Linked DNA regions of Homo sapiens: all the other regions are linked to region 1. Evidence: promoter capture Hi-C in 16 types of primary human blood cells and fetal thymus (Javierre and others, 2016). All regions are on one chromosome and are shown on one strand. The core of a region is centred on a gene start or on the middle of the fragment in contact, and the rest is flanking DNA. Distances in the headings are between cores, read along the strand shown. Region 1 holds the start of AP3B1 (adaptor related protein complex 3 subunit beta 1). Region 2 overlaps ARSB (arylsulfatase B). Region 3 has its middle 67 kb from the start of WDR41.

What was found. Contacts are between HindIII fragments. The CHiCAGO score rates a contact against its expected background, and 5 or more counts as called.
Region 2: a fragment that was not itself captured here is called in contact with the fragment with the promoter of AP3B1 in region 1 in 1 of 17 cell types (naive B cells); the score reaches 5.0 in naive B cells.
Region 3: a contact is called between a fragment that was not itself captured here and the fragment with the promoter of AP3B1 in region 1, in 1 of 17 cell types (M2 macrophages). The highest score is 7.4, in M2 macrophages.

The regions. Positions count from the first base shown.
Region 1 is chr5:78,293,270-78,295,969 of GRCh38, reverse strand. AP3B1 (adaptor related protein complex 3 subunit beta 1) reads left to right here and starts at 1,272. Exons shown (of 27, transcript NM_003664.5): 1 at 1,272-1,518. The coding sequence starts at 1,391. RefSeq lists enhancers at 12-61, 436-1,009. The HindIII fragment of the contact is 5,219 bases long and covers 1-2,700 here.
Region 2 is chr5:78,964,848-78,967,547 of GRCh38, reverse strand. All of the region lies in intron 2 of ARSB (arylsulfatase B), which reads left to right. Among named protein-coding and RNA genes, the nearest start is that of ARSB, 19 kb to the left of the region's middle. The HindIII fragment of the contact is 206 bases long and covers 1,269-1,474 here.
Region 3 is chr5:77,558,252-77,560,951 of GRCh38, reverse strand. It overlaps a transcript of WDR41 not described here. Among named protein-coding and RNA genes, the nearest start is that of WDR41, 67 kb to the right of the region's middle. The HindIII fragment of the contact is 1,479 bases long and covers 526-2,004 here.

The DNA of each region.
Region 1 (2,700 bases), core at 23-2,522:
ACCTTTTGAAATTTGGAGATCATACTCTCATCCTTGAAAACGCCCCACCGCCTTCCCTGGGGCGGCCGGCCTCCAGGTTCGCGTTCTACCTGGTAGAATCCCTTGACAGTTTCAGTACCTGGCCGCCAGGGCTTTGGGTGTTAATGCCTTCCTTGGACGGGAGGCACTGGGGAGAAGAGAGGGAAGGCGCTGAAACCCACCTGAGAAGGCGGGCTGGGGGAAGGCACCCCGGGAAAGAGGTTTTCTCGGGTGCCAGCACCCGGAGAGAGCTACTCTGGGGCCAGGCAAGCATCCCGCCTAGGCTCCCTAGTGCATATTAGTGAGTAACACGACTGGCGCGCGAGGTGGTCCATTTTATTTTTGGTAGCTAGACGCCAATAGGACGCACCACTTCAGCTCCAAACGGGAACTGGTGGCCCCAAGATGTTTTCTTTTCTTTTTCATTTTTTTGAGACAGGGTCTCGCTCTGTCGCCCAGGCTGGAATGCAGTGGAGAGATCTCAACTCATCGCTACCCCCTCCTTCTGGGTTCGAGTGATCCTCCCACCTCAGCCTCAGTAGCTGGGACCACAGACACGCGCCACCACGCCGGCTAATTTTTATATTTTTTGCAGAGAAAGGGTCTCGCTATGTTGCCTAGGCTGGTCTCGAACTCCTGGCCTCAAGTGATCCACCCGCCTCGGCCTCCCAAAGTGCTGGAATTACTGGCGTGAGCCACCGCGCCCGGTCTGCCCCCAAGACTTTCATTGAAAAGATGGAATGGTCGCTTCTGTGCGGATCCTCCAAACCATCGTTGGGAGAGGCCTCCTTAAAGTCTAGGAGAAAAGTTGTTTGGGACCGATATGAAAGTAAGGCAAAGCCGGATGGAAGAGAGTAGCCGAAACAAGCAAGAAAAGGAAAAGCGATCGTGATGGGTTTAGGAAAGGTGATCTGGCGTGCTAAATGGCATTTCCGGAGAAATCTGAAAACTATTGCTTTACTGAAGTATAGCAAAGAGCTGTCCGGGCTCTGGAAACTCCTTAACGGATCAAAACGGATGCAATGGGTATCCTTCTCCAAAGACACACCTCAAACGGGCCGGGAGCCGGGCAGTTAGCCACCCGCTGCCTCCCCTTCCGCAGTCCGGCTCGCAGCCGCTCAGCTACCTCTAAAGCCCGGAGCAGGAAAGTCCGCGCAGGCCTGGATGGCCCGGGTGGTAATCTAGCAGGCCTGCACACTGCGCATGCGCAGGGGGTGGACTGCCAGGTCGGCTCAGGGAGCCGTGACGAGTCCGGAAGCGCCTGCGCGCGCTCCTCCGTACGAGAACTAGTTTTGTTCCGTGCCCTCTGGACTGGAACCTTTTGGAGAGAACCCCCGGCAGGACCAACCCCGCACCCGCCAGCACCGCGGCAATGTCCAGCAATAGTTTTCCTTACAATGAGCAGTCCGGAGGAGGGGAGGCGACGGAGCTGGGTCAGGAGGCGACCTCAACCATTTCCCCCTCGGGGGCCTTCGGCCTCTTTAGCAGCGATTTGAAGAAGTGAGGAGAAAGGTTTGGGTTGCGGGGATGGGAGGGAGGAGCTGCGGACTCGGAGGAGTGGGCGCCAGGGTGGGCTTCCTGGAGAGGAGCGGGGTCGCCCTGAGGTCTGAGCAGGGCAGGGCGGTAACGTGTCCCGCGGGTGGGTAGGTGGGGTTGGTTGGCGGTGGTGGGAGTTGTGGGAGTTTGGGGCGAATGTGTGTAGGGGTCTCTAGTAGTTTTCAAACTTTAGTGAAAAGGAAACCACTTGGTGAGCTTAGATCCCACCCCTGAAGACACTGATTGAATTGGACTTGGGCTGGGCTCAGGAGTCTGAATTTTGAGCATCGTCTTCTAGTTTATTTACCGTTCGCCGGATCAGACTTTAATACATTCCCTGATTAGGGTGAAAGGAGTGTTTTGGTGAAGGTGAGAGTGCGAGTGTTGCTTGTGGGAAGTTATTTTGTGACCCCGGAGTGTAGGAGCAGAGAGGTGGATTTAGGCTGTTTGAATGGACAAACTGGTTTACACCAGTATTAATGTTCTTGGATTATGTCCTTTGCACTACAGACAAAAACACCAATCCAAAATAAGCATATGAATAGAAAATATTTTAAAAGAGTGTTACTGTGAACAAATCCAAAACTTTTACAGATTAATAATGTGAATTTTAAAAACGAATGTTAAACAAGGTACACTTAGTTTTGTAAAAAGTATCACCGAGAAATGGAAAGAAATCCCAAGTTGTTTGTTTTGGGGGGTGGGTTGGTGGTAGTGGTTACATTTACCAGAATTATCATTTTTACATTTCTCTTATTTTAAATCTTTCATTACTAAGCAATAGGGTCACATAATAGTCTGTCACTAAATTCATGCTAAATTAAGGTAGAATAGCTGTGCTAGTAGCTTTGCAGATCTGTTAGAGGGTATAATTAAAATTTAAATTAAACGTTACTAACAATATTGGGTAGTCTAGAAAGTGCTACTACTTCAAATTGGGATTACATTTTGGCTGTATTGAGGATCAAAATCATATATATAGCATGTAAGATACAATCTTTTCCTTTTTCCCAAGGTTAGAAAAGTTTAAAAGTAAGGTAACTGATTTCATTTTTCATTATATGCATTTGATGATCCATTGTTCTAGAACAAGTACGGAGCTTGTTGCCTCTACTATTAGCAAAATGTTTAGACTGAATTAACCTG
Region 2 (2,700 bases), core at 122-2,621, 670 kb before region 1:
GTGTGTGCCACCACGCTCAGCTAATTTTTATATTTTTAGTAGAGATAGGGTTTCACCATGTTGGTCAGGCTGGTCTCGAACTCCTGACCTCGTGACCCACCCATCTTGGCCTCCCAAAGTGCTGGGATTACAGGTGTGAGCCACCGCGCCCAGCCTGAGATTTGAAATTTATTTGTCCGAAGAGGGAGAAAGAAAGGAAAAGACTATAAGAGTTACATTATTTACAAGATAAATGGAAACCAGATGTTCAGGAAAAGCAAAAGCATTTTCTGGCTCTTAGGCCTGACAGAAATTTCTCCTTTGGGAGAAGGAGAAGGTAAGGTGGACAACATCTTTAAAAATGTCATTTTAATAATACGTTAGGTGGTTTTCTTGTAGATGTTTTGAGGTATTTTCTTCTGTTCAAGCTAGGGCCAGAGCACCAAAGTGCAATTCAGTAAAAGTAATTATATGGGGGCCAAAACAATGCAGCTGAAGCACATGGCTCTGTAATGCCTCATTGGATTCAGGGTTAAAATCAAGATGCAAGGATGTCAGACAGGAGGGTGTGTGTGCCCCACTCTCATCCAGGTCCACCAGCAGACCTCACTACTCAATCTTAGCTTTTTTTTTTTTTTTTTTAAATGGACCCGGATGTATTCTCAGTACCTCAAATAGCTGTTAAAATTAGACTTGATGTAAGATCACTTTGTCATCTTGGAAATTCTAGAGGAGCAAACAGCCTGTACATCCTTAGAAATTTTTCAATCAGGCCTTTGCTAAAAGATGAGTCAATATCTATACTCTGGGAAGAGGATGGGCTGTAGATATTTTGAATTGTTTATTAAAACCAAGTTAGGTACTTAAAAATTCAGCTGGACAGAAGGTAGAAATGATATCCTTTTATGAGAATTAAGAAGCCTAACCTGGATTTAGATGAACACACACCCCAAATTCATTTGAAGGGAGACTTGCAGCCAAGAAGGTTATGATGACCACACAGCTCTTCTCACTGTTACATCTCAGCTCTTTTGCTAAAAATCAGGTGATGGTGGGATAGTTGCACAAGCCTGTGAATACACTAGAAACCAATGTCTTTTACACTTTAAATGAGTGACTTGTGTGGTATGTGAATTATATCTCAATGCAGCTGGTACATAAAGCATCAGAGAAGATTTGGTTGTTCAAGAAGCATTTTCTATTTTTTTCCCCCAAAAGCATAGGCTGCCATCATCTTTAGGCTCAGTATTGAAGTTCAAATTTGTGAATCATTATTATGAAGAAAAGCTTCATGTGATTGTCACATGGTTGCTTGGTATTAGTTTTGCCAAGTATGTGAATAGTTTTATTTCTGGAATTCTCCTATCTGTATTATCTTTTAAATATTTGTAGTTCATGCCTTTGCTAATGAAGTGTATCTGTCCTATATTCTGCTAACTGATAGAAAGCAGCTCACACTTAACAGTTAAAGAACCTGAAGTGATTTCCTCAAGCTTTAATGCCCAGTAGTTATTAAAAACCTTAAATAGACCTCCAGTGTTCTGACATTCTAATCACCCATGTAAGGGCTGAAATTATTTTTATGGATACATTTCTTTCTCTGTTACACATTAATTAACAAGTACTTTGTATTTCGTTTTCCATTATATACATAGGAGAAAAGATTGCCATATAAAAGTTATTTTAAGACCAAAGTATTAATTGTATTCAAGATCTTGAATTTATTGAGTCATAGAAAAGGAGAATTTAATTTAAAATGAATTGATTTATTATATAAACTATGTAAAGCTCTTAATTTTCATTATAGGGAAAGTTCAGGACTGAAGAAAGAGCTAGGTCAATTTTATCATCCTCATTTTAAGGTTAATAAGCAGTATATGTCAGGAGATAGCTAAGAGTCTAGCAAATATTTCTTTTTAATAACTTTATCAAAGTATAATTCACATATCATACAATTCACCCAATTAAAGTGTACAATTCAATGATTTTTAATAAATTCAGAAGGTTGTGCCACTATCATGGCAATCCAATTGTAGAACATTTTTATCATCCCCAAAAAAGAAACTCATCCACCTCAGCAATCACTCCCCATTTCCCCCTAGTCCCTCCAGCCCTAGGCAGCCACTAATCTATTTTCTGTCTCTATAGATTTACATGTTGTGGGCATTTAATACAAGTGGAATCATACGTAGCACAGCTTATTTTAATACTTTAAAATATAGAAATATAATATTTTAAAATATAGAAAAGATGGAACATTTGCAGAAACAACTATATTTGAGAAAACCCATTTTCTTCCATGTGAAGTCTAAATTATGGGATAGGCCGTTGATGCCATTTAAATCTGGGGTGAAATTGAGATCATTTTAGGTAGAAAAGTCTTATTTCAGTGCTCACTTTAGTTTGATCTGTTGGCTCTGTTATGTCTAGAGATCCTCTATTAGGAAAGGTTTGTATCTTTCACCAGTGGGTGTCAGCATCTGACTAAAGATGACTCTTCCTAGAACCACTTCTGTAAATAACCTTGAAGCCAGTCTCGCAACATCAGTAACAACAAACATTGTTTGAATCCTGCACTCATTTATGTGATCACCTTAGAGTAAAAACCTGTAACAAGTCACATTAACTGTACATTATTTTTACCATTATATAGCTTTGAAGGATTGAGATTTTATCACCCTTACTGAGTTTCAACTCTGATAAAAAAAAAAACTGTTAGTG
Region 3 (2,700 bases), core at 16-2,515, 740 kb after region 1:
ATGGTTAATTTACACTAGCTGGTGAAGAAGTTTCATGAAACTGTAAATGCAAAGCAATCCAGCAGGAATGTATGTAATGGAAGAATGCCATCTGCTGGTGAACCCTATCAAATCCATAATTAGGAAAACCTGAGAACACATACCCTGTAGACAAGGAAGATTCAAAGTTTGTGGAAGCATTTTTAATTCTGAGAAATCTGCTTTCATTAAGCTGATGCATACCTTTGATATAAATTATTCATTTTAAATTAACTTGATTACTAATTTCCTGGAATCACTAGTCAGGAAAACCTTGAAAAGAAATCGGCGCAAAGGACTTTTTTTTTCTTTTTGCCAATTTACAAAGTTTTTATATTCATCATTCATCAGTAGTCAGCCAGCGAGTCTGTTCTATTTAAAAACTCTGGCTTTTCATTTAATGCATCCCATCTGTTTCTGAAATAAATTGCAATAATCCGTGTTTAATTTTAATCAATGTATTACTAAATATGCAAATTATATTAAAAGCCATGGTTTGAAAAAGCTTTCATTTGTAAATATGGTAGCTTAAAACAGGAAGCATATCTAAAAGCCATTTAGCTACAGTAGCCTAACTCTAACACTGTAGCTGATTTATAAAGCAGATCACAAGTTGATCTTTCTCCCACAAGGGGATATGTAAAACTGTTGCATATCAGATTTTGTTAACATCTGATGGGCTAGTGCTTATGGTATAAGAGACTCATACTTCAGCAACCATGTCTTTTACATTTAAATTAAGGTAATCTTATTCCATTCTACATCTTTCTAATTTTTTTATACAACCTAACAGATGAATTTGTGTGATTGGTTTATGAATCACAGTTAAAGCAATTTGAGCAAGCCTTTCAATCAATCTTAAAATTTTAGTGTCTAATTTACTTGTGATTTGCATAATTAATTGTGGAAGGGATCCTTTGGGAGTCTCCCTTTTCCCCCTTTTTCCTTTCCTACCTTGTGTCTCACACACTGACTAGATAGATTGGGAATGATACTGGAGTTCTTTTAGGCCTGCTAGATGACTTTGTTAGGAATCCAGAAATTATGTGTTGCTTTGTTCTCTCTGATCTGGCTGGACCAAGAGGTAATTCTGAAAATTAGGTCTGTTATCTGCAAAACAATTCAGTAGCATGGCTGTGATTGAATTGTGTATACAGTTTACCAAGCAATTACCTTAAAGGAGGATTTCAGGACTCTTTCCTATATAAAGGTCATGAGTATGTAGGAATACACACACACACACATAACATTATATATAAAGTTTTATATATAACATTAGATATAATGAAAATATATATTATATATAATGCTGACATATAACAAATTATAGATATGTTATGTATACATCAACATTATATTTATATAACAACATTATATAAAAATCATGTCCATATATTGAATTCTGTCATCTACTAATTGTTGTACTGGATTGGGTAGTACATTACCACCAGTACGGTCTAATTAGTGCCTTGCTAAAGCAGCTTCAAGAATTTTGCCAGCCTGTTGTTAAACACAGTAATTATTAACAATCAAATTATATAAACTTGTAATTTAAAATTTATATTAATGTAATAACTGCTCAAAAACATCACTTTCTAATTATGGTGCTGCATTTTAACATCTATACTCTTAAGATTATTTACATCTATCTTTTGTATCTGTGTGGTACATTTCTCCCCAACTCGACATTTAGTGATATCAAATTGGTAGCTTGAAATTGGCCACAGTGGGAGTGTTTACATGACAGAAATTGGCAAATGCTACAAATCAAGTCAAGGCTATTTCCCTCTCTATATAGCTGGTTGTTAACTATTTACCAGCGTACCACTGTCTTTAATACACACAGAGCAACTCAATACATGTGTCTGTTATTTATTCTTGAGCTCTCCTAAAAGAGTAATAACAGCTTTCATAGACCCTTTTACAAGAAGTGAAATGTATATTTGATTCCCTAAGGAATCTTAGCCCACAATTTCTTGTTAAGCTTTAAAAATTAAGGTTTTTTTCCCTTAGTGTAATAGATAATTTGGAAAATACAGAAAAAAAATATTTTTTCAATGACTTTATTATTTTGAAAGGATGAAAGTAATCACATATTCATAATTTTCTAAACAATTCATGTCTTGCATATTGGTTTATCAGACAACTTATTGCTGAGTTTAAGAGACTGCCAAACAATGCTAAGATTAGAAAGTGCTGGAAAATTAGTTTGTGGAATGAACTCACTGCAATAACATAAATAGTAGAAACATGTCAAGGACCATGTTTGTTAGAAATAAACTTATTTCTCTATGCAGAAGACTTATTAATCATATCTCAGGATGTTTAATAGCGTAAACAAATGGAAAACTTCAGCTTGTGATCCAAGGTCGTTTTCAAATTGGAAATGACCTCAGCCTGCCCCAAGAGGGCTAATGATGTAAAAATAAGTAGGGCCCAGTCCTCTGGGGAATTCGGTGCAGGTCAGCGAGGCTCTTTTGGTGAATGCGGCAATCTGCTCTGCCTCCATAGGCCTTTGTGTAGCCAGACTCCCTGGGAAAGGTGGGCTGTCTGCTGTTGCCTGGCACATATGTAAGAATATTCTTTTTCAATTTCCTTTTCTATTTTTCTTAGATTTTTACTCATGCACAAGGAAAAGCTCATAAGACACTAAAAATGTCACAATGGTAAATTTTCCTTTCC